Linked DNA regions of Homo sapiens: regions 1, 3, 4 and 5 are each linked to region 2. The links are contacts of gene promoters, found by promoter capture Hi-C in human tissues and cell types (Jung and others, 2019). All regions are on one chromosome and are shown on one strand. The core of a region is centred on a gene start or on the middle of the fragment in contact, and the rest is flanking DNA. Distances in the headings are between cores, read along the strand shown. Region 1 has its middle 3.8 kb from the start of APOL1. Region 2 holds the start of MYH9 (myosin heavy chain 9). Region 3 holds the start of APOL4 (apolipoprotein L4). Region 4 overlaps APOL2 (apolipoprotein L2). Region 5 overlaps APOL3 (apolipoprotein L3).

Evidence for each region. Contacts are between HindIII fragments. The study calls those that stand out against the background at their distance.
Region 1: a fragment that was not itself captured here is called in contact with the fragment with the promoter of MYH9 in region 2 in 5 of the 25 tissues and cell types used here (dorsolateral prefrontal cortex, heart left ventricle, liver and 2 more).
Region 3: the fragment with the promoter of APOL4 here is called in contact with the fragment with the promoter of MYH9 in region 2 in 2 of the 25 tissues and cell types used here (adrenal gland and mesenchymal stem cells).
Region 4: a contact is called between a fragment that was not itself captured here and the fragment with the promoter of MYH9 in region 2, in 1 of the 25 tissues and cell types used here (dorsolateral prefrontal cortex).
Region 5: a contact is called between a fragment that was not itself captured here and the fragment with the promoter of MYH9 in region 2, in 2 of the 25 tissues and cell types used here (dorsolateral prefrontal cortex and mesendoderm cells).

What each region holds. Positions count from the first base shown.
Region 1 is chr22:36,246,767-36,251,902 of GRCh38, forward strand. No RefSeq gene overlaps it. Among named protein-coding and RNA genes, the nearest start is that of APOL1, 3.8 kb to the right of the region's middle. The HindIII fragment of the contact is 5,646 bases long and covers 1-4,599 here.
Region 2 is chr22:36,385,671-36,390,797 of GRCh38, forward strand. MYH9 (myosin heavy chain 9) reads right to left here and starts at 2,297. Exons shown (of 41, transcript NM_002473.6): 1 at 2,137-2,297. MYH9-DT (MYH9 divergent transcript) reads left to right here and starts at 2,924. Exons shown (of 3, transcript NR_183573.1): 1 at 2,924-3,065. RefSeq lists enhancers at 1-169, 1-130, 170-883, 641-690, 2,314-2,608 and silencers at 1,321-1,550, 1,831-1,910, 1,941-2,520. The HindIII fragment of the contact is 20,760 bases long and covers 1-5,127 here.
Region 3 is chr22:36,198,716-36,203,696 of GRCh38, forward strand. It overlaps APOL4 (apolipoprotein L4), which reads right to left and starts at 3,094. Exons shown (of 4, transcript NM_001386885.1): 1 at 2,985-3,094; 2 at 615-661. The coding sequence starts at 3,019. RefSeq lists an enhancer at 3,070-3,569. The HindIII fragment of the contact is 28,208 bases long and covers 1-4,981 here.
Region 4 is chr22:36,224,751-36,230,304 of GRCh38, forward strand. It overlaps APOL2 (apolipoprotein L2), which reads right to left. Exons shown (of 5, transcript NM_030882.4): 5 at 1,459-3,530. The coding sequence ends at 2,654. Among named protein-coding and RNA genes, the nearest start is that of APOL2, 12 kb to the right of the region's middle. RefSeq lists an enhancer at 2,413-3,091. The HindIII fragment of the contact is 3,547 bases long and covers 1,301-4,847 here.
Region 5 is chr22:36,140,999-36,146,558 of GRCh38, forward strand. APOL3 (apolipoprotein L3) reads right to left here. Exons shown (of 4, transcript NM_145639.2): 3 at 4,475-4,601; 4 at 1-1,060. The coding sequence ends at 202. Among named protein-coding and RNA genes, the nearest start is that of APOL3, 17 kb to the right of the region's middle. RefSeq lists enhancers at 1-456, 457-956. The HindIII fragment of the contact is 7,006 bases long and covers 1-5,560 here.

The DNA.
Region 1 (5,136 bases), core at 527-3,026, 140 kb before region 2:
ACAGGATTTTCCCTAAAGGCAGGTCAGACACTCACCCATCAAGGGGCAGGTGAGGAGAGTGATCAGATAGCAAGTGTGCTCAGACAGTAAGAAGGGAGGACCCTCCCTAAACTGACTCGGGGGGATTCTTGCTGAGCCAGGGTTGTGCAGGCCCAGCAAGCACGGGATGGGCATGGAAGGCCAAGGTTGGTGCCTAGAGGAGAAGAGGCTCAGAAGAGCCCAACTGGAGTCTGGTCAAACAGAAAGTCTTTCTCAACCCATGCCTTAGTGTCCAGAGTGTTTGCTGGGGCTTGACCACAGGCTGCACTCATGGCTGACCTGGAGTTTCCAGCCCCTCCCTGAGGTCTCACACCTTTAGTCCCCAGATCCTCTGGTGGTGAGAAGAGATACCCAATAGCCCCAAACCCCCATCATCCATCACATTTGCTATACTGTCCTGTAGCCAAACCACCAGGGAAACAAAGACATTCCTACCAGGCAGGGCATTCCAGGGGCCTGGAGATCACTTCGCAGGGGTAGGGGACAATGGGAAGACCTCTCCTGGGATAAAGTTAATTCTTCACTGCGCAATTGTAGTGCAGTGAAGATTCTATTCCCAGAGGCCGGGGAAGGTTTGCAATTGCTTTGGTGCAGTGGGGCATGGGTAAACTTGCACCTTAGCTATAACAGCAGACAGAACAACCATAGTACAAATACAGGTAGTCAGTTGTGCAACTGTGTATTGGTAGACACAATGACAGCACATCACCGGCTAACCCCACAATATGGGGTGACTACCTGTACAACAATGTCACCAAGCCCTTGGGTTAAGCAATGATACATGGCTGGGTTGGTAGAATAAGTCTCTGCATATGGGTGCCTACCAATCCCCATGGAGATGGAGATGGCTGTGGGCCTGTGTCACCCACCCTTGGCCTTATTTGCCATTCAACTGGACTGGCAGATGCATCTCAGGGCATCCTTAATTGCCACAGTATATAGTTCCCCATTTAGACACGACCCCCAGTAACTGGAAAACGGTAAAAGCTAGAGATTACCAGATATGTGCATACTGGTGGTTCTACCCCTTGGCCATCTTTGCCTCCAAAGTGGCAACTGTAAATGCAGAGCTGCAATTCGTGTGCTGGCTAAACACACAGCTGCAGCCTTCAATGATACTCACCATCGTTTTACACTTCCCAATCAAGAAACCACCCAGATCAGGCATGTTCCTCTGCAAAATCGTATGACCCAAAATCATACAACTGCTGCCCATGGTGGAGCTTGTGCATTAATTAAAACAAAATGTTGTGTATATAGCCCTCATTACTCTCATAACATAACACAGGCTCTGCTGACGTTAGATACCCAGAGTCCAGCCACAGAGTCTTTGTCTTATGATCTTATCACCTCATGGTTTAATCAACTCCCAGACACGTGGAGAAACTTTGTATCTAGCGTAATTGCAATTGCGTTCATAATCCTTTGTTGAGGTTAGTGTTGCTGCTGGGGTGTCTGGCTGCAATGCTCTTCCACAAAACTGGCCCCAGGAAAATCACAGAAAAACAGTGTGATGAGATTGTGAGGGCCATTCAAGGCTATGCAGGGGTGTGGAGAGCATGGTGGGCATGTCCCGTCAGACAGCAATAACTGAAGCATCCCCTAAGAATAACCCTACATTCCTTGGTGAATTTTTGCTCAGTGTTCCAAGGTATGGATCCCGGGAATGGCCAATCCAGATGTTTACATCATACTTATGAAGAACTCTGTTCCTTGGATCAGAGGTTGTGCAAGGAATCAAGACCTTTTGTTTTGGGCTAGGTGGAGGTTTCCTGGCAGAGGTGCTAAGTGGAGGTTGCTCTGGGAAGAATATCATATAACCTGCATGCATTTGACAAACAGGAGGGGATTTCTTGTCTTGCCTGCTGCTCCTGGGCAACCTGTACATAAGCTCCCTGAATAAAGCTTATGTCTCACCTGCTGTCTCCAGGTCTTTTCTTCTGTCTCTCCAAGTCTGTGTCCTGTCAGCTCATTAGCATAGGGGTCCAGCATGACAAATATAAAACGGTGTTTAACATTCTTTGGATTATGTTTATATAAATGTGTTATTAATATGTGTTCCAAAATTGTACGAGATTCTATAGGTCTAATATGTCTTGGCATATGTTATCAGAAACTATTATTATTATTATGTTAAGTAGTTGTTTGCCACAGAAATAAAGTAATTTCCTTGTCGAATGTGTCTTTACCAATGCTGTTCTCATACTTTTGTTATCTGCAAAAAGTGTTTACTTTACATCTCAAAAAACAGTTTATGATCAGCTACAGATTGTGCCATCGGACTAAGAAAAAAATAAATCTTCCAGGACTGTAATTCAAAAGTTGATGTGGTCATGAAGATTGCTAACCCAATATCAAGTGGAAGAAGGTTATTACATGGGAATGAATTAATGGAGAACAAAAATAAATTTTTAATGACTTTTTGTTTAATATACGACTGATTCTTTTGTTTTGTTTTTCTTAGTCAAGAAAACTTCTTTTTCCCTTTGGGCTCCATGTAGCTTTTAACAATTGAATAAAGTATACTCTTGTGAGCAAAATTTGAAGCATATTTCTTTCTCACTATCTGATTTCTCCAGAATTTGGAAACTATTTGTGAGTATTCTTAGTTCATGGCAATAGAGTTATTTGCATAAGTTCAGTTGGAATCTGTTTTCTTTCATAACAGGACACAACTAGAGACACTGGTTATTTTACCAAGGCTTTGACTGGCATGGCATATTTCCACATGTACGTAGGCTGCTTTGAGTAATGGTGGCTGGCTTATAGAGCCGATGAAAGCCTCTTTGAAAAATTTTCCTCAAACTTTGCCTATACAGTTCCTTTACAGGGTTCCTGTCCTGTGGTAAGTAAAGAATGTCACTTTCTGACAGGCCCAGGAAGCCCAAGTTACCTTGGGACCTTGAGGAGAAAGGAACTCACCTAATATATATAGGCATCTGCAGGCAAATATAAATCACTGGCTGAGCTTGAGATTTTAAAAGGCCTACTCTGAGATATCTTATGAAAAAGAAAATATTGTAGCAAAGTCAATTTCCAAAAGGAGCCCATATGCCAAATAAGTATTCTTGCTGCACTTTATACAAATGATCAGGCCAAGAACCATCAGACTAAAACTTCTGTTGCAAATAAATTAGCCCTACTATGATTTGTCTTTGGTAGAAATACAGGACTAGAGAGAGAAAAGGTATGTTTCAAAAGAAACTAGAGAATGCCTGTTATTGGATTCTAGCTTTCTCCATTGTTTTCTAGCCGTATTGTTTGTCCACAGTTTATCTGGACTACATACTGAATTCTTTCCTGGCCACAAGTCTCCAAACTAATATTTTGCTTTTCTTTTTCTCTCATTTTTCTGACTTGGAATCACCAGAAATCCAAACTGTGCTTTTCTTAAAGTCCTGCAAACTGAAGCTTGAAAACTGTGTTATAGTGAAGGAAGAGAAAGACCCTCTCATATTATTTTTATATTGTTTTGTACTCAGTACCTGTTTTAAGAAAAAACAACAAGGAAGTAAAACCAAAGACAGGCAGCCCGGCGCCAGGCCCGAAACCAGGCCTGGGCCCGCCTGGCCTAAACCCATTAGTTAAAAATCAACTTATGATTCAGAAGCCGATGTTATTCATAGATTCCTTACATTATGTAGAAGAACATTGTGAAACTCCCTGCCCTGTTCTGTTCCCCCCTGACGACCTGTGTATGCAGCCCCTGTCACGTACCGCCTGCTTGCTCAAATCAATCATGACCCTTTCGTGTGAAATCTTTAGTGTTGTGAGCCCTTAAAAGGGACAGAAATTGTGCACTCAGGGAGCTCGGATTTTAAGGCAGTAGCTTGCCGATGCTCCCAGCTGAATAAAGCCCTTCCTTCTACTACTCGGTGTCTGAGAGGTTTTGTCTGCAGCTCGTCCTGCTACAATAGAATTCAGACCAAACTCGTGACCAGAGACTCATTTGCTTCTACAGTGTTTTGTCCAAAAGATGTTGAAGAACGGCCAGGCGCAGTGGCTCACGCCTGTAATCCCAGCGCTTTCGGAGGCCGAGGCAGGCAGATCACAACGCCAAGAGATCGAGACCATGCTGGCCAAGATGGTGAAACGCTGTCTGTACTAAAAATACAAAAATTAGCTGGGCTTGGTGGTGCGTGCCTGTAGTCCCAGCTACTTGGGAGGCTGAGGCAGGAGAATCACTTGAACCCGGGAGGTGGAGGTTGCAGTGAGCCGAGATCACAACACTGCACTCCAGCCTGGCAACAGAGCAAGAATCTGTCAAAAAAAAAAAAAAAAAAAAAGTTGTTGAAGAACAAGGAGAAAACGTGAAAGGAAAATCAAATCTTGGGACCCCAAAACTCACTGGAAACAGTTAAGCTTAGAAACGGAGTCACTCCAAAACCTGCCTTTGTTTTTGCTTCTAAGCAGATATTTGCGAAGACAAAAGGCAACATGTTCCCCAGGTAGCCTCCTTCACAAATTGCTCACAAGGAAACTCCTTGTGGGTCCCAGCAGTTTTTACCCTGAGGCAGACTTTGTGTAATTTCATTGTGACAATGCAAATTAGCAACTTATCTTTACTGGTACATGATAAATAACAAGACTTCTGCCCACCCTCAGAAAAATGCACATATGCCTGCTTCCTCTACTCTATGTTCATTTTTATCTTATATAAAATGTAGACGAACTGTGCATGAGACGAATGAATAATTGACTGTTCCTCTACCCCCTCCTTTCATAGACAACCTGTGGATTCAAGGAGGGCTAATCAAAGCTTCACAAGAATGTGACCACTCACCTCATTACCTATCCTGTCTTTTTTCCTTTCCTCCTTCCACTCCTGCCTGATTTTACACATTTAAATACTGGAGGCCTCAAAACCCTCTGTGAAAAACGAGTGGACCCCAGAACCTCCTGTGACTTGTGTGACTTTTTCCTGGGTGCATCCTCAACCTTGGCAGAGTAAACATCTAAACTGACTGAGACGTGTCCCAGACCCTCTTTGGTTTACAAGTCTTGCCTCCTCCCTGAGTTGCTGGATGAAAGCAACGTCCTCTCTTCTTGCCTCAGTTTCCTCATCTGCAAAATCAGATCATAATCCTGGCCCATTGA
Region 2 (5,127 bases), core at 1,047-3,546:
AGCTCCCCAGAGCCTGCCAATGCCGGCTCTCCAGACACCTGGCTCTGCCCACCTGCGCTGCCAGGGTTTGCTGAGTGTGGAGACTGAAGTTCTTTGGTGTCACCCCACAGTCATCCAGAGCGCAGTGGCTCTCAAATTACACTGAGCAATCTCTCCATGTTTTTAATTACCCCCCAATTATCCACTAAGTGGCTCCTCACTTTCCAACACCGCATGCTTGCCTCAGTTTGCCAAACCTGCAATGTGCTTCTCCCTTGTAGCAGCCTCCTCCTTGCCCAAGAGAAGTGGCCCCTCTCAGCCTTGAAATTCCTGAGTCCTTTGTCTATGGCATACTTGGGACACACATCACAGGCTGCCTTTGTATTTCACTGGTTCTGCCACTTTCCCCTTGAGGACTGTAAACTCCCCAAGGGCAGAGGCAGGGCCCCGGGGATTTCACAGGGCAGTCTGGCTCCCTTCTCCCAATCCCCATGACTCACAGTACCTTTCCGGGGTCCCTGTCATCTCTACCTCACGTTAGACTCATCTACAGATTTGTCTCAGTTCTCCCCTAAGTGCCCATGGGCACGGGCCAGGTCTTACTCAACCTCCCACCCCCCCACCACCTGGCAGAGTCCCTGGCACAGAGAGGGCAGTTAAATATTTGCTCAATTACACATCTGTGTCCCCTTCCCCCACACATAGCAGCCTTGTATATAAACTGACTATTATTAATTGAGTGATTGTCTCAAAAGGCCTCCCTCCTTACCAAAAAGGGACTCCTAAGCCATCAGGTGAGCCAAACACTGGCCCAGACAGTGTAGTTAGAATGGCCACAGTGCTGCGCTGCACGGAGAAGGAGCTAAGGCTCTCTTCCCTTTCCACGGTTACTCATCAGTCACTTTGAAATCCTGTTAAACCCAGAAAAGGGCGCAGTGAACCGAGAAGTGGCTGGGCCTCTCAACTGCCCGGTGGAGACAGCCGCCTGCCTCTACGACCTGGGACTTCCCAAGGAGTCTTCTCTCCACACCGGCTGGGTGGGGCCGTGCGCTCACCCTGCCCCCCACCACAGGACAGCCGGCAAGCTAGTGCTGGGGGTGCTGAGTCTCAGTTTGAAACAGCGGGGCTTCCCTGGAGAATGAGGGTGCCGCAGTCCTGTCTCCTGTGCGTGGCCCCAGAACAGGATGGGGTGAGGACCCCAGCACAGGGAAGCGGGTGCGTGGAGTGGAGAATAGAAAACTCCGATTTGGCTCAAACAGGAAAGATGCAATCGCCCAGGCCTGCTCGTAACGGCAGAGCTAGCTGCCCCCGCACCCCGCCCAGACGGGATGGCCCCTGGGTGCGGTGGAATCAGGTGCACGCCTGGGCGGCCCCGACGGCTGCTGCATTCCGGGCCTCCCTCCCCCGAGGATCAGAAGTCGGAGGTCGAGGGCTGGAGCAGGGACTGGGGGTGGCCCTTCCTGTCTCGCGCCCGGGTCCCCGCCGGGTCCCCCTTGTCCGGGCAGCCGCCGCACCTCCCCCGGGCCCTCCCCGACCAGTCCGACGGCAGCGGGCGAATGAGGAAGTCGGCCGCGGAGGCGGAAACCGGGCCGGGTGCAAGGTCTGCAGCGGGACGGTCCGACTCTGACTCAGGAGGACGCCCTGACAGCTGCCAAACGGTGCCCGCTGCCCGTTACCTCCGTGCCTCAGACGCCAGAAACTTCCACGGGAGCGGCTGCCCCGGGCTCCCAACCCGTGAGGCTGCGTCCCAGGGGCCGCGGCTCCCGGAAGGGGTTAAAAAGTTTGCCCGAGTCGGGCCTGGGCGAGGCGAGGGCGGGGCGCGTGCCCCAGCGGCTGGGGGAGGTCGGCTCCAGTGCCCAGTCCTGAGACCGCGCCGGGGGACACGGGGGGCGCCGGGGAGCGCCGGGTCCCGAGGCCGCCCCTGCACCCCTAGGCCTCGCTGCTGCCGGCGCCCTCCCCGAGCGCCCGCGTGGGGGTCCCGGTCCCCCTGGGAAGGATGCGGTGCCGGGCCCTGAGCCGCCGGCGTTCGCCCCCGCCCGCGCGGGTGGCGGGCCGCACTGAGCCCAAGAACCACCAGTCGGCCTGGCGGCAGCGCGTCTCGCCCCCGCCCGCCCGCCGCCGCCTGCCCGGGGCGGGACCGCGGTGGGGCTCGCTCACCTGAACCTGGATCTGCCCCGGGAACAGGCGCTGCTTCTCCCGAGAGGACTTTCTCGAGCGCTCGGGCGGCGGCCGGGTGGGGCGAGCGCACGAGGCGGGAGCTGCAGCAGGTCAGCCTTGCTTAGCCTTCCGTGCCCTGCCCAGGAACCGCGGTGATCTGCGCGCCTCACCGCACCCAGCTCGGCTCCTCGCCGCCTTCCCGCCCCGCCCTCGGAGCCGCGGGACCATTCCCAGCCGGGAGCCGGCTCCGGGGCGGAGCCTGGGGCACAATCCCGCCCCCTTCCTGCTACACCCACTGCAGGCCGCGCCTGGCCTTGATGGGCAGACGTATTGGCCTGTGGAAAGGGGGTGGGCGGAGCCTCTGCGGCCAGATGGGTGGGGATTCAACATCCTCTTTCCGCCCCACCTCCACCCGCTCCACCTTCCCCCGCGCTTCCTAGGCGGGAGCCCCGCCCTCTAGGGCGGGTCCAACGGACAGCCAGGTTCTAGGACAAGGATTGACACAGGGGGAATCCAATCAGGAGGCGGCGACTCGGGGCGCGGAGAGCTCCGGGCCGGGGTTTTGGTGCCTTGCCTGGGCCGGGGCGAGGCCCTGCGGGAGCCGACTGGGAAGGTCTGGAACTCTGACACCCCGCCCCGCGAGCTGTGCTCTCAGTCTCATGTCATCCCACCACAAGGACAGATATTAAGTACCATATATGGGAAAAATGCTATTTTACATAATTATGATCCCTGTGGGGGCGGGCATGGACTCAGCCCTGGATTCCATTGTGAGCGTCTTGAGTTCGATTCCTGACCCTGCCTCTTTAGGATCCGCACGTTGCTGCCTTTCAGCCTCCAAACCTTCGCTCTGGCCGTTCTCTCCACCTGGAATACCCTTCCGAGCCTCTCTTCACCTCCATGTCATTAACTCGCATACATCCTTTCAGGTACTTGTTACAAATTGCACTTTTTTTTTGTTACTGTCCACTACAAGAGGATAAAAAATGTTTTCATTTTTAAATGAAAAATCTTTTGATCCATTTGGAATTTATTTTTGGGGTAAGGAAGAAACCTAAGATAATTTTTGTAATAGCCACTTGTCCAAACACTGTTTTCTCCACTGATTTTAGTTGGCACCTTCATCGCCTATAGAACTATTATACTTGAAGCTGTTTCTGACTTGTATACATTGATCTCTCTGTGTGCACCTGTGCCAATCCCACCATGCTTTAATGAAGATACCTTTATAATACATTCTATATCTATGAGGGCAAATTTCTCATCATTACTCTTTCTTACTGGAATGTGCTTGCTATCATGACTATTCTTCCAAATTAACTTCAGAAAAAAGCTATGTTCTAAAGGCAAAAGAAAGCTGGGAAAAAAAGATTTTGCAACTCTGTGACAAATTACTATCAGCAATATATAAAGATCTCTTCCCAGTTGATAAGAAAAACCTCGGCCGGGCGCGTGGCTCATGCCTGTAATCCCAACATTTTGGGAGGCCGAGGCGGGCGGATCACCTGAGGTTGGGAGTTCAAGGGCAGCCTGACCAACGTGGAGAAACCCCGTCTCTACTAAAAATACAAAATAATTAGCCGGGCATGGTGGCCCATGCTTGTAATCCCAGTTACTCAGGAGGCTGAGGCAGGAGAATCGCTTGAACCCGGGAGGCGGAGGTTGCAGTGAGCAGAGATCGTACCACTGCACTCTAGCCTGGGCAACAAGAGCATAACTCCGCCTCAAAAAAAAAAAAAACAAAGAAAAAGAAAAAGAAAAACCTCAAAGACTCCAAAATAAAAATGGCCAAAAACAGGAACAGGTGATTTTAAAGAAGAATTATAAATGGCCAATAATTATTTTTAAAAAGCCATAAGAAATGCAAACAAAACAACATAAAATGCCATTTTCACCTAATTAAAAAAAAAATGCTCAATATTGGTCAGGTTTATAGATACAGATGAGAAAGTAAATTGATCAATTCTATCTGAGAATTCATCTTAAAAGACATTAGAAAAGTACACAGATATGAACTTTAAAGTTCTTTGCAGCCGGGCGCGGTGGCTCACGCCTGTAATCCCAGCACTTTGGGAGGCCGAGGCGGGCGGATCACGAGGTCAGGAGATCGAGACCATCCCGGCTAAAACGGTGAAACCCCGTCTCTACTAAAACTACAAAAAATAGCCGGGCGTAGTGGCGGGCGCCTGTAGTCCCAGCTACTTGGGAGGCTGAGGCAGGAGAATGGCGTGAACCCGAGAGGCGGAGCTTACAGTGAGCCGAGATCCCGCCACTGCACTCCAGCCTGGGCGACAGAGCGAGACTCCGTCTCAAAAAAAAAAAAAAAAAAAAAAAAAAAAAAGTTCTTTGCAACATTGTTTATAGTCACTAAATGTTAGAAATAAATGTACAATATATTACAAGATTGAATACATTGTGATATAGTCATATGTCGAAAAGTACAAAAAAAGTCATTAAAATTTTTATGTAGATTTGTATTTGCTGATTGAAAATATACTAAGTGGCCAGACGCAGTGGCTCATGCCTGTAGTCCCAGCACTTTGGGAGGTAAGGTGGGAGGATTGCTTGAGCCCAGGAGTTCAAGACCATCCTGGGTAACATCGCAAAATCCCATCTCTACAAAAAATACAAAAACTAGACTGCCATGGTGGCGCACATCTGTATTCCCAGCTACCCAGGAGGCTTAGCTGGGAGGATTGCTTGAGCCTGGGAGGTTGAGACTACAGTGAGCCTTGATCGTGCCACTGCACTCCAGCCTGGGCAACAGAGTAAGACCTTGCCTCAAAAAAGAAAAGAAAAAGAAAATCTACTAAGTGAGGAAGAGCAAATTTATAGAATGCTGTTACAACATGATTTTGTCCTGGTGTGGTCGCTCACGCCTATAATATACATACACACTTAGTTGGGCATGGTAGTACTTGCCTGCAGTCCTAGCTACTCAGGAGGCTGAGGTGGGAGGATTGCTTGAGCCCAGGAGTTTGAGGCTGCAAT
Region 3 (4,981 bases), core at 1,844-4,343, 190 kb before region 2:
ATGGGCAAATATCCTAGTGGTGCAGGTGAGGAGGAGTAAGGAGCTCCAGGTCACACAGAGGGGACATGGCCAAGACCAGAATGGGGTCCAGTTCAGTGGGAAGCTGGGTCACTCTACCCACAGGGCCACTCAGAGCAGAGGGGCTGGTGCAGGGCAAGAGCTGGAGGGAGGGGACCGGCCTCTGCTGGAAACACCCCAGGGTCAGCCAGGAGCAGAGAGGGAGGTGAGAGGTCAGGGCTGCTGGTCAACCTCCTCTCCCACCCCTCCGCTACTCCTGGCCAACCCTCAAAAGCCAACCCTGCTGTTTCCATTTCCCCAAGGCTGTCCTGCCCCACTTAAGTCATTTGCTAGGTGTCAGGGTAGGGAGGAAGTGGGCACCTGGGCCATGACCCGCTGAGGAGAGGTCAGGATGCAGATGCCCCCCAGAACCCTGGGTCAGGGGACTCCACGTGGCCTCTCTTGGGGCTTGGGGCAGCCTCATCAGCCACCTCCGTCTGGGTTCCGTTGGGGCTCACTCAGCCTTGAAGACACCACCCTCCATTCTAGCTGTGGGTAGGAACCAGCCAGGGAAGAGGAGGCGAGCCTACCAGCAGCCAGGTCTCTGAAAGGCTTACCTTGGAACTGTCCAGCCACTGTCCAGCCTGGATGGTTTTGCTGCACCCTTGAGGAAGAGAAAACAAATTGTGGGATTGAATGTGAGCCACCTATGGGCAAAGGGAGGCTTGAACAGCTGGGCCTCTGCAGATCCCTCTGAGGTGGCAGCAAATGCCAAGACCAACCTAACCCAGATTCTTTCTCTATCACCAAGTCCCCATCATCTGCTATTTACAGACACTCAACTCATTCCAGCTCCCTCTTCCCTCACTCTCACACCAAGGAAAAGTCCGCTTGTCCTGTTGGAGAATGAGGAGAAGATAATCAGAGGAGGGGCAGCCATCTGATCATTACAGAAACTACACAGTCTATACGCAGAAATAGAGATGGGAAGGAACGTTCTAACAATGACCGGAAACATGTGTGACAACTAATTGATGATAGCCAGTCTGTATTGAGTGTCTGTGATGTGCAGGGCTTCTTTTTTTATTTTTATTTTTATTTATTTATATTTTTTGAGACGGAGTCTCGCTCTGTCGTCCAGGTGGAGTGCAGTGGCGCGATCTCGGCTCACTGCAAGCGCCGCCTCCCAGGTTCACGCCATTCTCTTGCCTCAGCCTCTCGAGTAGCTGGGACTACAGGTGCCCGTCGCCACATTCGGCTAATTTTTTGTATTTTCAGTAGAGAAGGGGTTTCACCGTGTTAGCCAGGATGGTCTCGATCTCCTGACCTCATGATCAGCCCGTCTCGGCCTCCCAAAGTGCTGGGATTACAGGCGTGAGCGGTCGCGCCGGGCCTGTGATGTGCAGGGCTTCTGACATGTGTCTCATTCAATGATCACACACAGCCCGGGAGATGGGTACCACTTTCCCATTTGAACACAGAGGAATCCACAAAAGTTAGGGAACTTGCCAGTGTTTTCTATTGCTAGAGCCAGGACTTCTGCTTCAACCTCATGTCTTCAATGACTGTGCTCTACTCCCTTAAATATACAATATTGAGTCATGTATACACGCTCATGGTAAATGACTCCTCATTGCAAATCCATGTCTCACACTCCGTGCTCAACTTTTCGTCTTGGTGAATTCACTGGTGCTGCAGTGGACAGCCTGTGTCCCCCTTGCTTCTCTAAGATCCTTTGTCCCACAAAGACCTGGATCCTGCCAGATGCCGGCCTAGCCCCTGCTGTGGCTGCCGAGCCCTCCTGGCGCTGCCCTGTTCCCTCTGCTGTCCTCCCCTAGCTGATGGACCTTAGGGTGTTTCTAATTCTTCATGTAAATTATGCTACAAAGAACACCCTCCTTCACGTAAAACTGCCCACATTTGATTTTATTTCCTTAAGATATTTGTAGGAGTAGAATGACTAGGTCAGAGGGTATCAACATCTCAAAATGTTTTATACCTAGAGCCACACTACATGCAAATTGTACCAATTCACACTCAAACTAGCAGTATATGAAGATGCCCATTCTTTCAGTCTTACTGGCTCTCAGTAGTCTCTTTATCAGGACAAAAAATATATACACAACATGTAAATTTGAGAACTAAATATCTTGTTATCAATACCAATTAGTACAAACTTTAAGGCACGAAGGTAGCAGTTGAGATGTGAAGCACTGAACAAAGGAGAAGGAGGATTAATATTGTCATTTTTTAAAGATGGAAGTTAAGAAATACTGGGTACAACTGAGGGTATAAGAAAGTTGTAAGTAAATTGTTTACAGCTACAAAGTTGCTAATGGAAGACATAAAACTGGTGATAGAATGTTAGGAAAAGGTGGAGAGGAGAGATAGAGGGAGGGTACAAATAAGATGAAAATGACTAATAATGATACTATAAATAATAACAATACCATTTCAGGCCCATCCCAGTTAGGGGCGGCTCCAAGCATTACCATTGTTCTTTTCTCACCGTGTGTCTCTGCGCACTCCCTGGCACACCCACTTCCAGCAGCTGGTCTTTGTTTGCAGACTTTATTTTAACAGCTCAGTGGTTCCCGGGCCCCCTGATGGGGTTCCATCCTCCAGCTCTCATACTAAAGCCCCCTCCTCAAAAGCCACTCGCCTCCCTCTTTCCCTTTCCTGCCTTTGTCTCAGGGTTCAGACACACAGATGTCTGTCTTCTGGGGCCCCCATGCAACAAGGGTAAAAGGGGGACCCAGTCCTGGGCAGCATTCACCAGGGGAGTATGCAGAGGGGCGTCTGGGCGCTTCTTGCTGTAAGGGACAGGGGTGACAGGAGAGGGGCATCCCTTCGCCTTCTTCCTGCTTTGTTCACTGTGTGACCCCCTAGGCCAAGGCAACCATCTCAACACCATGAGCCAGTAGAACTGGGAGGACCAGGAGAGAGCAGAGGAGCAGGAGGGCAGAGAGCTGGGGCCTCGGACTCACCCGACGCTTGTGATGAGCTGCACCCAGGATCCCATCCTCCTTGGTCATTGTTGGCCTGGCTCAGACGCTGATCTGGGGCCTCTGCTGAATGTTGAGGCTGGATACTGACTGTTAGCCTCAACTAGGACACAGTGCGTCCCCTCTAGGCGAGTCTACCAGTTGGTCAATTCCGGGAAGTGATTTTGGTTCCTAGAAAAACCCACATGGCTCCTGGCCCAGCCCAAGCCCTGCCCAATTGTGCAGCCCAGACAGGGAGCCCTCCCTCCCACCTCAGGGCTCTGAGCCAAGCTCACCAGATGCAGACGACAAAGATTTTCAGCAAAGCAGCTCCCTCCATGTCGCTGCGGGGCCTCCTCCTTGGGCAGGAAAAGAGGGGTTGAGACAGTGTGCTCCTCCTGAGAAATCACCATTTTCATTTCATTTTTAATAAACCGTTTTGCTGTGTCACCCAGGCTGCAGGGCTTTGACGCCATCCTAGCTCATTGCTGCCTAGATCTGCTGGGCTCAAGTGATCTTCCTCCTTCAACCTTCTGAGTAGCTGGGACTACAGGTGCACGCTACCATGCTGGGCTAATTTGTTAATTTTTGATTTCATAGAGACAGCATCTCCTGTGTTTCTCAGGCTGTCTTGAACTCCTGGCCTCAAGTGATCTTCCCGCCTCTGCCTCCCACAGCACTGGGATTACAGGCTTCAGCTATAGTGCTTTCTATCTTGATGGGCATCTCTTTTTGGTGAAGAAAAATCAGGCCGGGAGCGGTGGCTCACGCCTGTAATCCCAGCACTTTGGGAGGCCGAGGCAGGCAGATCACAAGGTCAGGAGATGGAGACCATCCTGGCTAACATGGTGAAACCCCATCTCTACTAAAAATACAAAAATTAGCCGAGTGTAGTGGCGGGCGCCTGTAGTCCCAGCTACTCGGGAGGCTGAGGCAGGAGAATGGTGTGAACCCGGGAGGCGGAGCTTGCAGTGAGCAGAGATTGCGCCACTGCACTCCAGCCTGGGCAACAGAGCGAGACTCCATCTCAGAAAAAAGAAAAAAAAAAAAAGAAAAAGAAAAATAAGACCACGACTCAGATTTCACAGAAATTACCCCCCTGATTTCATGGACTTTTGGCAGCTCTATCAGGTTTCTGAGAGGGGAAAATCTTAGGCTGGGAGGGGAGGTGACTTGCCCAGAGTCGCACAGCTCTTGGAGAGCAGACGGGAAGCCAACATCTGCCCTTGTGACTCTGCTATTGAAGAAAAACGGGTGATTTTAGTAATCCAACAGTGTCCAGGTTTGATTCTGCTTCTACAAACACAGAGATCTAAGCTCTCACTCCTGTAGTTACACTCACAATTCCACAGGTGGCTTTTGAATCTCATGATTACAAAGCTGGCGTCATGCCACAGGCACCATTCTGCAATGCGACCTTCTCACTCCCCTGTCTCAGCCATGTTTCCTATTGCGGGATCTGGCCAGCAGCCCCCAGTGCAACGGGGCTCTCTCTTTGCTCCTAGGCGGATCGGCAGGTTGAGAAATAATAGACACACACAAGATAGTGAAAGCTGGGTCCAGGGGGGTCACCGCCTTCTGGTCAACAATGCACTGGATATACCAGCATTTATTATTCAGTTTAGTGAGGGCGGGGGTAGGTTAGTGAGGGATTTAGGGTCATTTGATTACGAGGTGGGATGGTCACATGGGGATGAAGTAATTCTTTAACATAACATTCGTATGTAGAAGTACAGTGCATTTGTATGTAGAAGTACAGTATACAGAGATAAGAATTTACAATATAGTGTGTGCGTCAGTAATTTCTAACAGAGCCTTAAAACAGAAACACAATCTTTCCATAACCTATGATTAGCAAGATATTAATCAGCAGTAACAATTGCAACAAAAGCTGGTTACTGACAATCCATGGAAACAGGACGTGAAGCTAGATAACCGGTTAGACTAGAAATTCTCAGAAGGGAGTATACCTGAACCCTAAAGATGCCTAGAAGAGCCAC
Region 4 (5,554 bases), core at 1,824-4,323, 160 kb before region 2:
CCCTCCTGGATCCTCAGTTCTGCTCCTAGAATCACTTCCCACACAAACCCTCTACACCAGAACGTTGCCCCTGGCTCTTCCTTCACAGGACCCCAGGCCACAACAGGCTACTTTAGGCAGCATCATGGCCTACATCTTTGTGCTAAGAGTAATGGGAAGCCATTAGAGGGTTGGAAGCAGGTGCTCAATCAAACCTATGTTCTTAGGTGGGCATGGTGGCTCATGCCTGCAATTGCAGTCCATTGGAAGGCCAGGGTGAACAGATCACCTGAGCTCAGGAGTTTGAGACCAGCCTGGGCAAGATAGGGAAACCCTGTCTCTACAAAAAAAAAAAAAAATACAAAAATTAACGAGGCATTGGGGTACACACGGATGGTCCCAATTGCTCAGGGAGTCAAGGTGGAAGGATAGTTTGAGGCCGGGAGGTCCAAGATGTGGTGAGCCATGATTGTGCCACGGTTTGCCAGCCTTGCAACAGAGTGAGAGTATCTGAAAAAAAAAAAGAAACTATATTGTTAAAGCCCAACCTGGCCCAGTGTGGAGCATGGTCCAGGACATGGGAGGGACAGGGGCAGGGGCACAGAGAAGACCATTCTGGAAGTTCTTGCAGGAGTCTGGGCAAAACGTGAGGACAGACTGGATGGGAGTGTTTGCTGTCTGGATGTCTCTCTTTGTCCCTCTATTTTTCGCTGATCCTCTCCCAATCTGCACACAGGCCCCTCTGACACTAGTTAGCCTCGAGTGTCCCGTGTCAATCCCGGGCTCTGACTCACAGATGGAAACCACACCTGTGCTCAGCCAGAGCCAGACATGTACAAGCTTTCCCCGAGTGCCCCAATGGGCTTGGGGTTTTGAGGTCTCAGGGAAATGACCAGCTGGGAAAGTGAGAGTCCAGTGAGCGAGCAGAAGGGGTCTTGAAACTTCGCTCCCTGAGACCCTGGAAGAAGGATCATGAGGAAGGTTAAGTCAGGCACCCAGAGCCCAGGGGAGCCTCCATCGGCACCACAAAGTCACAGCCATCAGTCAGTGCTGATTGACTCAAGTCTCCAGAACACAAGATGGGGAGAGCAAGGTGGACCTGAGATATCACCTTTTCCAGCCCCCTTCTACAGCTGATGAGGAAACTGAGGCTCAGAGGGGTGAAGTCTCATGACCACAAGCAGGGTTGAACTCCTGGACACACCTCAAGCTTCCTTGACCTGTTCCTGGCATCTCCTTTCATTTTTCCTTTCTTCCCAAATTAACCTCTTTCCAACACAGCACTTCAAGTTCCCCTGGAACTTCATCGGTCCATCGGTGTCCCCTGGTCTGGAAGAGCACCGACCACTTGCCAAGGCCCCCACCACTCTGCTGCCATCACAACCACCATCACCACCATTACGAGAAAAACTTGAGACTGATGGCCCCCAAAGCTTAGAAGGAGCTGAGAGACCAAAGAATGACTCGAACAAGTCCAGCTTGGTGAGTAGGTGAGTTTATTGGGACTTACACACAGGTCAATCCTGGGCAGCGACAGGACAGCTCTAGAGATCTGTGCTTCCTCCCAATGCTAAACTGCTTTCATGCTAATCTTCTGACTGTTTACTTACCGGCTAAGAGCGATGGGACTGTTTTCATTGGTTGGTTCTCAGATACTCTCTGGGAAGTTTGGGTTCTCAGGGACACCTGCTCCTCAGCTGGGGATTGTGGCCATGGCCTACCACCTGCCTCTCAGGGTTCAAGCAGGGGACATGCACCCTTTAGTAACCTGGAGGGGACCCGTCACATGACAACCACCCCAACCACCATCATGAAGAAGCCACTGGCTGACTGTGATACACCCCCAGAAGGACAAGGGAGAGTGGATGCTGGAAAGACAGAGCGAGAGACCATCACCAGGGAAAGACTTTATTCTTGGAAGGACATCAAACCTGGGGGGGGGTCGGTAGTGGAGCTGCTGTTTCTTCTCCTGTATCCAACAGTTCTAACTCTGGTTTTCTCCATTTTCAGCTCTTTCTTTTCCTGGCCTTCTCATTGCTGGTTCCTGCAAGCTCCCCCTCTATTCTTCGCCCAATATATTCTTTAGTCCAAAGTAAACTACTTCTTCCCATTCCCCACACTCTCCAGTCCTCTCTCCTCCCTTATTGCAGGCTCCAGTGTTCCTGCCTTCTCCTTGGTGCACTTGCCATCTGCATTAACCCCTCCCTTGCTGTGCTCAGCTACACAAATGCCAAAGTCACTAACACTCAGTTCCATAAGCTTTACCTTGCCCTCCTTATCCCCCTAATAAAATGTCTGCATTTTGGCCAGGCGCGGTGGCTCACGCCTGTAATCCCAGCACTTTGGGAGGCCGAGGTGGGCAGATCACGAGGTCAGGAGATGGAGACCATCGTGGCTAACACAGTGAAACCCCGTCTCCAGTGAAAATACAAAAAAATTAGCCGGGCGTGGTGGCAGGTGCCTGTAGTCCCAGCTACTCGGGAGACTGAGGCCGGAGAATGGTGTGAACCCGGGAGGCGGAGTTTGCAGTGAGCCGAGATTGAGCCACTGCACTCCATCCTGGGCGATAGAGCGAGACTCCATCTCAAAAAAAAAAAAAAAAAAAAAAAAAAGTCTGCATTTTGTCCTGGCCTGTGCCCGGCATTTCTGCCCTGGTGGCTGCACTGCTCTGGGGTCATTGGTCTTGGCCTGGCTGCAGCATCTCATGGATCTTGGTGAGAAAGTTGAGCTTCCCCTCCAGCTCCTGAGCCCGCTTCTTCAGCTCCTCAGCTGACTCTGACTTTGCCCCCTCAAGCAAGTGCTTTGACTCATATGCAAGGCTGACCACATCCAGCAGAAGCAAGATGCCTCCAGTGGCTGCACCCACGATCATGGTTCCTCTGCTCATTGCCTGGGCGGGGCCTTCAACAACCCTCTCAACCTGTTCACCGCCTTCAGCTGAGATTCGCCCAATGACATGCGGGGGTGGGGCATACGCTCCTAACTGAGGGTTGGCTCTGGCTCGTCTGATGGCACGGATGTTCCTCCCAATCCCTTGTGTGACTTGGTACCAATTGTCAACTAAGGTAAGAACATTGGGTGTGTTCCCACCCACAAACTCCTTCATCACCTTTGCTACATTGGTGCCGCTTTGGTCCAAGTTGCGGGCTTGGGCTCGTGCCCGCAATTTGTTTACTAGTTCTACCACACTGCAGGTAATCCCAGCCACAGCAGCTGCTGCTCCCAGACCCATGCCAGTGTCCAAGAGCACAAAACTGATTCCTTCTGTGAAGGGTGCCAGACCCAGGCCGAGGAGGGTCAGGATGCCAGAGGTAGTGCCAACAGAGTTGGACACCACATTGGCAATGGTGGTGCCTCTGTGGACCTGCTCAACCTCCTCTGCAAGGGCACGGAGCTTCCTTATGTGATCCTCAAGCTCCCTTTTCAACCGAGGAAACTCTTTCAAAAACCACTGCCTGTGCTGCTGGTCTTTATCGTGGCGGTTTTTGTCCTTCATGACCATGTGACTTGCAAGCTTGTTCAGAGCTTTACGGAGCTCATCTGCCTCATCCCTGCACAAGGAAAGGTTAAAGGATTAAGAAATGCAGTTTCCCTATCTGTGAAATGAGCTCCATGCGATCTCTATCCTGTGTAAATTGCAGAGCTTTCACTATCAATCAAATAGAAACAAATTTTACAAATGGAATTAATTATCTTTCAAACTCAAACACATTTTGTTCATCATAGATATTCCTCAGTACTTATTCCATATGGAAATAAATATCTTAAAGGCACCTCAGATGCTCTTTCATGGTAGGTGTTTGATAAAGATGCCTCCTCACTCAAGGGCAGGTCAACACCGTGACTGCCAAAGTGTTTGGAGAGGGAAAACTCTGCAGATGAACAAAGAGCAGTGAGAGTGAGACAAAGAGACCTTATTACCAGGATGGCAGGAAAGTGAAGCATGAACTTTACCCAAAGAGAGGCCTTCCCTTTGTCCTCAGCTCCTGGGAAGTGATCTCCAGGCCCCTGGAATGTCCTGCCTGGTAGGAACATCTTTCTTTGCCTGGTGATTTGGCCACGGGACAGTATAGCGATGTGATGGATGATAGGGTTTGGGGCTATTTGGTGTCTTTCCTGACTTCCAGAGGACTTGGGGACTAAAGGTGTGAGATCTCAGGGAAGGGCTGGAGACTCTAGCCATGAGGGCAGCTTGTGATCCAGCCCCAGCAGATACTCTGGACACTAAGGCATGGGTTGAGAAAGAAGGACTTTCTCCTTGACCAACTCCAGCTGGGCTCTTCAGAGCTTCTTCTCCACTAGGCGCCGACCTTGGCCTTCCACACTCACCCACTGCTTTCTGGACTTGCACCACCTTGGCTCAGCAAGAATCTCCCCAAATCAGTTTAGGGAGGGTCCTCCCCGCTTGCTGTCTGAGCACCGTTTGTTATCTGATCATGCTCCTCACCCCCACCACTGGTGGTTGAGGGTCTGACCTGCCTTTGGCGAGAATCCTGTTAGGCCAGTTTAGCAGGAACCCCCCACTCTGGCGTCTCCTGTCAGTCCTGTTCCATCTCCCGCCCCCACCCTGGTGTTGGCTGTGACTCCCCCTCTGTCTTTACTATATTTGGAGCTGGGCTCAGTCTCCCTCCCCTGTAACAACAATCCTGAATAAAGGCTTCATTTCTGGTTTAATGTGATTCACAGGAATTTTTCCTTAACTGGGTGAGCTTCCCTGGTTGGCAACACCGCATGTGTTTTGTCCCACATTCACACAGGAGAACACAGCCTCCTGAGGACAATGAAGATTCACACCTGAAATCCTCCCAGACTCTGCCCTGTGTGTCTCTTCCTTAGGCTGATTTTAATCTGTGTTCTTTCCCTGTGATAAACCACAATCGTGCAATAGCAGTTTTCAGTGAGTTACGTGAGTCCTTCTAGTGAATTATAAAATCTAAGGATGATTTTAGGAATCCCCATAGATTTGCAGGTGGTGTCAAAGGTAAGGGTGCCCTCAGACATTGCAGTCTGGCTATCTCTGAGTACTTTGAATTCAAACAAAAACAAAACCTCAGAAAGACAGGAGATCACTTTGCCTGGCATCTGCTCCCTTCCAATGCCTCATGCCCTTTCACCTGGCTGAAGGCTACTGGGTGCGGCCACTGCCCCAGCTGACTGGAGTGGGAGATCTGGCTATTCATTCTGGCTCCACATGGACGCTCCAGCCACCTTACTGCCTCCTGACCTACCACCTGCACCCCCAACCTTCCAGGTCTCACTCGCAGGTGTCACCAGCCTAACTGATGCCTTAGCAGTGACAGCTTCACCTGTGTGCACAGCAAGGCCATGTGCAATTTTATGGAACCACTAGAAGACTCAAGACACTTTCAGAACCATCTATATAAATTGCTAATGCTGAAAAGACCTGAATTTGGTCAAGATGGTAGAGGAAGTGTTTTCCTCCTCGGTTGGGACTTTGTGAGTCTGCTCAGTACCCCTGAAATTACACAAATTGGCAGCAACTCATTCTACTTTGGAAATGGTCACTAAGGCATGCCATGGTAAGGAGCTTCTCTGTGTAGAAGAGAAGAAGGTC
Region 5 (5,560 bases), core at 1,892-4,391, 240 kb before region 2:
CAGCATTCCTGCCTTCTCCTTGGTGCACTTGCCATCTGCATTAACCCCTCCCCTGCTGTGCTCAGCTACAGAAATGCCAAAGTCACTAACACTCAGCTCCATAAACTTTACCTTGCCCTCTTTATCCCCCTAATAAAATGCCTGCATTTTGTCGTGGCCTGTGTATGGCTCACCTCCCCTGCTGGCTGCACTGGTCTGGGGTCAGTGGGTATGGCATGGATTCAGACGCTGATAGATCTGAGTGAGCTCCATTAGATTCTCCTCCAGCTCCTGAGCCTGCCGCCTCAGCTCCTCAGCAGATGCAGACTTTGCCCCCTCATGCAAGTGCTTTGACTCGTATACAAGGTTGACCACATCCAGTGCAAGGAAGATGCCTGAAGTGGTCGCACTCAGGATCCGGGCTCCTCTGCTCACTGCCCGGGTGGTGCCTGCAATCGTTCTCTCTGCTTGACCACCACTTCCAGCTGAGATTCGCCAGGTGGTCACAGGGAGTCGGGCCCTGGCTCTGGCTTGCCTGATGGCACGGATTTCACTCCCAATGGTTTGTGTGGCTTCGTAATAATTATTAAGAAGGGAAAGTAAGTTGGGTGTGATGTCACGCATAACTTCCTTAAATACCTTCAATCGGTCAATGCTGGTTGCAGTCAGCCTGCTGGCTTCAGCTTCTGCTGATGATGTGTATGAGTGCTCCACGATGCTGGTGGTGATCCCAGTCACAGCAGACGCTGCTCCCAGCCCTACCCCAGCTGCAGTAAGGGCCAGACTCGTCCCTGCTGTAAATGGTGCCAAAACAAGACCAGCAAGGGACATGATGCCAGAGGCAGCGCCAGTGGAGCTGGACACCACATTGGAGATGGTGCAGCCTCTGTGGACCTCTTCAATACCATTTGCAAGGGCACGAAGCTTTTCTATGGACTCCTGGATCTTCCTCTTGACTTGGGGAAACTCTTTCAAAAACCATTCCCTAAACTGCTCATCTTTCTGCTGCACATATTCGTCCTCAATAGCTGCATATGTTCTAAGCTTCTTCAGAGCTTCGTAGAGAGCATCTGCCTCATCCCTGTACCAATAAAGGACAGATGATTAAGAAAGGCAGCTTACTTATCTGTAAAATCAGCTCAATAAGATCTGTTCTACATAAATCACAGAGCTATTACTATGAGTCAAATGGAAATAAAGCTTTAAATTTTAAATGGAAAAATTTAAAATAATTTTTCCAAGGTTAAACATGTTTTGTATATCATAGATATGCCACAGTACTTATTCTGTATGGGAATAAAAAACTTAAAGTCATCTTCAGATGCTCTTTAGTGGTAGGTATTCGATAAAGATGGCTCCTCAAGCAAGAGAGGTCAACATCATCCCTCCAATAGTGTGTGGAGAGGGGAAATTTTGTAGATGAACAAAGAGAAGTGGGTTCGGAGCAAAAAGACCTTCATTCAGAGGATCATAGAACAGTGAAGGATTAACTTTATTAGAAGAGAGGTCGTTCTTTTGTCTTTGGGCCCTGGGAAGGGATCTCTGGGGCCCTGGAATGTCCTGCCTGGTAGGAACATCTTTGTTTCCCTGGTGGTTTGGCTACAGCACAGTATAGCAATGTTATGGGTGATGGGTTTTGGGGCTATTACGTATCTTTTCTGCCTTCCAAAGGAACTGGGAACTAAGGGTGTTAGACCTCAGGGAGGGGCTGGGGACTCCATGTCAGCCATCAGGACAGCTTGTGATCCAGCCCCAGAAAGAGCTCTGTACATTGAGGCATAGGTTGAGAAAGACTTTCTCCTTGGCCAAACTCCAGTCAGGCTGCTCTGAGCCTTTTCTCCTCTAGGCGCTGACCTTCCATGCCCATCCCGTGCTTGCTGGGCCTGTACTGCCCCAGTTCAGCAAGAATCCCCCAAGGCAGTTAGGGAGGGTCCTCCCCACTTGCTGTCTGAGCATTCTTGCTGTCTGATCACGGTCTTCACCCGCTCCTTACCTGCCTTTAGTTGAGCAGCTTGTTAGGCCAGTTTAGCAGAAACCCCCCATTCTGGTGTCTCCAGTCAGAACTGGTCCATCTCCCACTCCTCACCCTGGTGTTGGCTGTGACTCCCCCTCTGTCTTTACTATATTGGGAGCTGGGCTCAGTCTCCCTCCCCTGTAACACAATCCTGAATAAAGGCTTCCTGATCTAATGTGATTCACAGGAATTTTTCCTTAACTGGGTGAGCTTCTCTGGTTGGCAACACCCCATGTGTTTTGTCCCACATTCACACAGGAGAACACAGCGTCCTGAGGACAACGAAGCTTCACACCTGAAACCCTCCCAGACTCTGCCCTGTGTGTCTCTTCCTTAGGCTGATTTTAATCTGTGTTCTTTCCCTGTGATAAACCACAATCGTGCAATAACAGTTATCAGTGAGTTACGTAAGTCTTTGTAGTGAATTATCAAACCTGAGTGGGGGCTTAAGAAACACCTTCAAATCTGCAACTGGTGTCAGAAGGAAGGGTGCCTTCAGACATTGCATTTTGACTAACTCTGAGTCCTTAAGCTATCAAATAAAACCTCAGACTGGAAGAGATCACCTTGCCTGGCATGTTCTCTCTTCCAATGCCACATGCCCTTTGATCTTCTGACTGAAGGCCACTGGGTCCAGCCACTGCCCCCTTTGACTGAAAAGTGAAAGGCCTGGCTATTAGTCCTGGCTGCACATGAACTCTCAAGCCACTTGACGGCCTCCTGACCTGGCACCTCCAAGCTTCAGGGTCTCACTGTCACATGTCACCAGCCAAACTAATGCCTTAGCAGGTGACAGCTTCACCTGTGTGCATGCCAATGCCATGTGCAATTTCATGGAACCTCTTATGGACTCATGAGACTTTGAAAATCATCTCTATAAATCACTAATGCTGAAAAGACCTGCATTTGGACAAGATGATAGAGAAAGTGTTTTTCTCTTTGGTTGGGGACTTGTGAGTCTCCTGAGAACCCTTCAAATTACCCAGTTGGCAGACACTTGTTCCAACTCTCCAAGCTGGCCCGAAGAAACACTTCCTCTACTCTATGTAGAACAGAAGAGGGTCCCAAATGGCAGTTCAGAATGCCCCAGTTCCCAGGCATGCTGTCAGGGAAACAGTCACCCATGGCCCACTATGCCCATCAGTGATGGGATCAAATCAGGGAGGGAAGAAATATCCCTCTCCCACTCACTGGTCCTCTGCAAGTCCATGGCCACGTTACCTTTCATGCCCTCAGTGCCTCCCTCTTCTCACCCTACTCCCAGCCTTGGTGCCCGAGCCTTCCTGCTGCTCCTCCAACCCAGGCCCACCCCTGCCCCATCCTGACCCCTGGCTCTGCCCCTGAAACGTCTCTCTGGGTCTTTGGATGGCATCATGCTACTTGGTTCCCCACCTCTGACCTGCTGTTCATTCTCAGGCTTTAACCACACGCCCATCTGATTGAACTACTATTAGCATTGGAGAGATGGCAGGTCCCAGTCTCCAAGACATAAAACAACAGCCCCAGAGCTGTGCAGGGACAGAGCCAAGATCCACCCCCAGCTCTGTCCAACTCCATTCCAGCCTCTCTGTGTTCTGTGTCAGCAGGAGGATCCTGCTGTGTTTGTGCAGTTCCTCAGAGGTGGAAGAAAAGGGCCCCGGACAGCATCTCCAGGAACACACATTGATCAGGTCAAGATTTTTCTGGCTTTTTTCAAAGAAAGTCCTGCTGGGCATCCAACTCTAAGAAAAACACTTGGTCGGGCGCAGCGGCTCATGCCTGTAATCCCAGCACCTTGGGAGGCCGAGGCGGGAGGATCACGAGGTCAGGAGATCAAGACCATCCTGGCTAACACGATGAAACCCCGTCTGTACTAAAAATACAAAAAAAAATAGCCGGATGCGGTGGCCGGAGCCTGTAGTCCCAGCTACTTGGGAGGCTGGGGCAGGAGAATGGCGTGAAACCGGGAGGCGGAGGTTGCGGTGGGCCGAGATCATGCCACTGCACTCCAGCCTGGGGGACAAGCAAGACTCTGTCTCAAAAAAAAAAAAAAAAGAAAAAAAAAGAAAAAAAAAGAAAAACACTTTTGGTCCTGGTCTCTCCCCAGCAATCTTTTTAAAAGGTAACATTAACGGAGCACCTACCATGTGTCAGTCATTATGCTAAATACTTTACATGCATTAGCTTATTTTTCTCACAATAAAGCTCAATGGATGAAGAAAGGAAGGCAGAAAGTAGTCAAGTAGCTTGCAAAGCTCCCATCACCAGTAGATGGCAGAACTGACCCTGCCCTTGTGGGCTTCCTCTCCCCTCAGCCTGAGGTCACTCACTGCCAGCGAAGGACTTGGAGGAAATATTCCTCCTGGACTGCTGAGAGGGACATTCTCAAGTTCAGCAGAGGGGGCTGCCTGGAGGAGGTGTGCCTGCCAGAGAAAACTAGCCCAGGGGAGATCAGGATGGCATAGCCGGGGCGCCCCATGGAGGTAACCCCACGGAGGTTACCTGGGCAATTCAGCCGCAGTCACGAATCTCTTCCAGGCTTCATTGTTAGTCAGCAGGATTTGCAGATGCACTGGGCTGACTCTCTCCCGGAAGTATTTGGTGGCCTCTTCAGTAAAGCGTTTCTTTTCTACTTGGAAACAAAAAGCATAAGATTGGAAGAAAGTGTGCTACAGCCTAAATGGCATTGAGAATAAGGTGGTTCGAGGTTAATCCTCCTCAACCAGCTGTCACATGGGGTATTTTTGATGGAGGCATCAGTGCTATAGACTGAGTTGTGTGCCCTCCAAATTCATATACTGAGACCCTAAACCCCAGTAACTATATTTGGAGATTGAGCCTTTAAGGAAGTCATTAATTTAAAGAGAGTCGTAAGGGTAGGGCCCTAATCCTACAGGACTGGTGTCTAGTTAAAAGAAAAAAAAGAGGCAGAAGATCTCTCTCTCTCTCCTCACCCCACCCCGCCCTCGCTGTCTCTCTTGCCTTCCAGCCCTCTCTCCCTGTCTCTCTTTCTCTCTCTCTCTCTCTCTCTCACACACTCACACACACACACACACACACACATACACCCCCCACACTGGGAAGGCCATGTGAGGACACAGCCCTGAGGCAGCCTCTGTAAGCCAGGAGCAGAGCCCTCCCCAGACATCAACCCTGCTGGCACCTTCACCTTGGAATTTTTGCCTCCAGAACTGTGAGAAAATACATCAGTTGTTGGAGCCACCCAGCCTGTGGCGTTTTACTAAGGCATCCTGAGAAGAGTGATTCACCAGGGAAGTGCCATGGTGCTTTGTGGAGGAACCGATCTATTTCAGCTGAGAATCACCAGAAAGTGAGCTTTCCACCATGCTTTCTCCCCATGTACGGGAAATATTCCAGTGATCGCTTCCTTCTGCCATGTGCCTATTGTCAAACGCTTTACACCAGTGTCTTCAAAATCTGAGTTTCGACCCATCAGTGGGTTATGAAAATAGTTCATTTTGTCAAGAGCAGCATTTTAAAAAGAAAAGAGCATTGAAAATATCAGAGTGTATTGAACACAGCAAGAGTGAGTATTCTTTTGTAAGATATTTGAAATATATATAATAT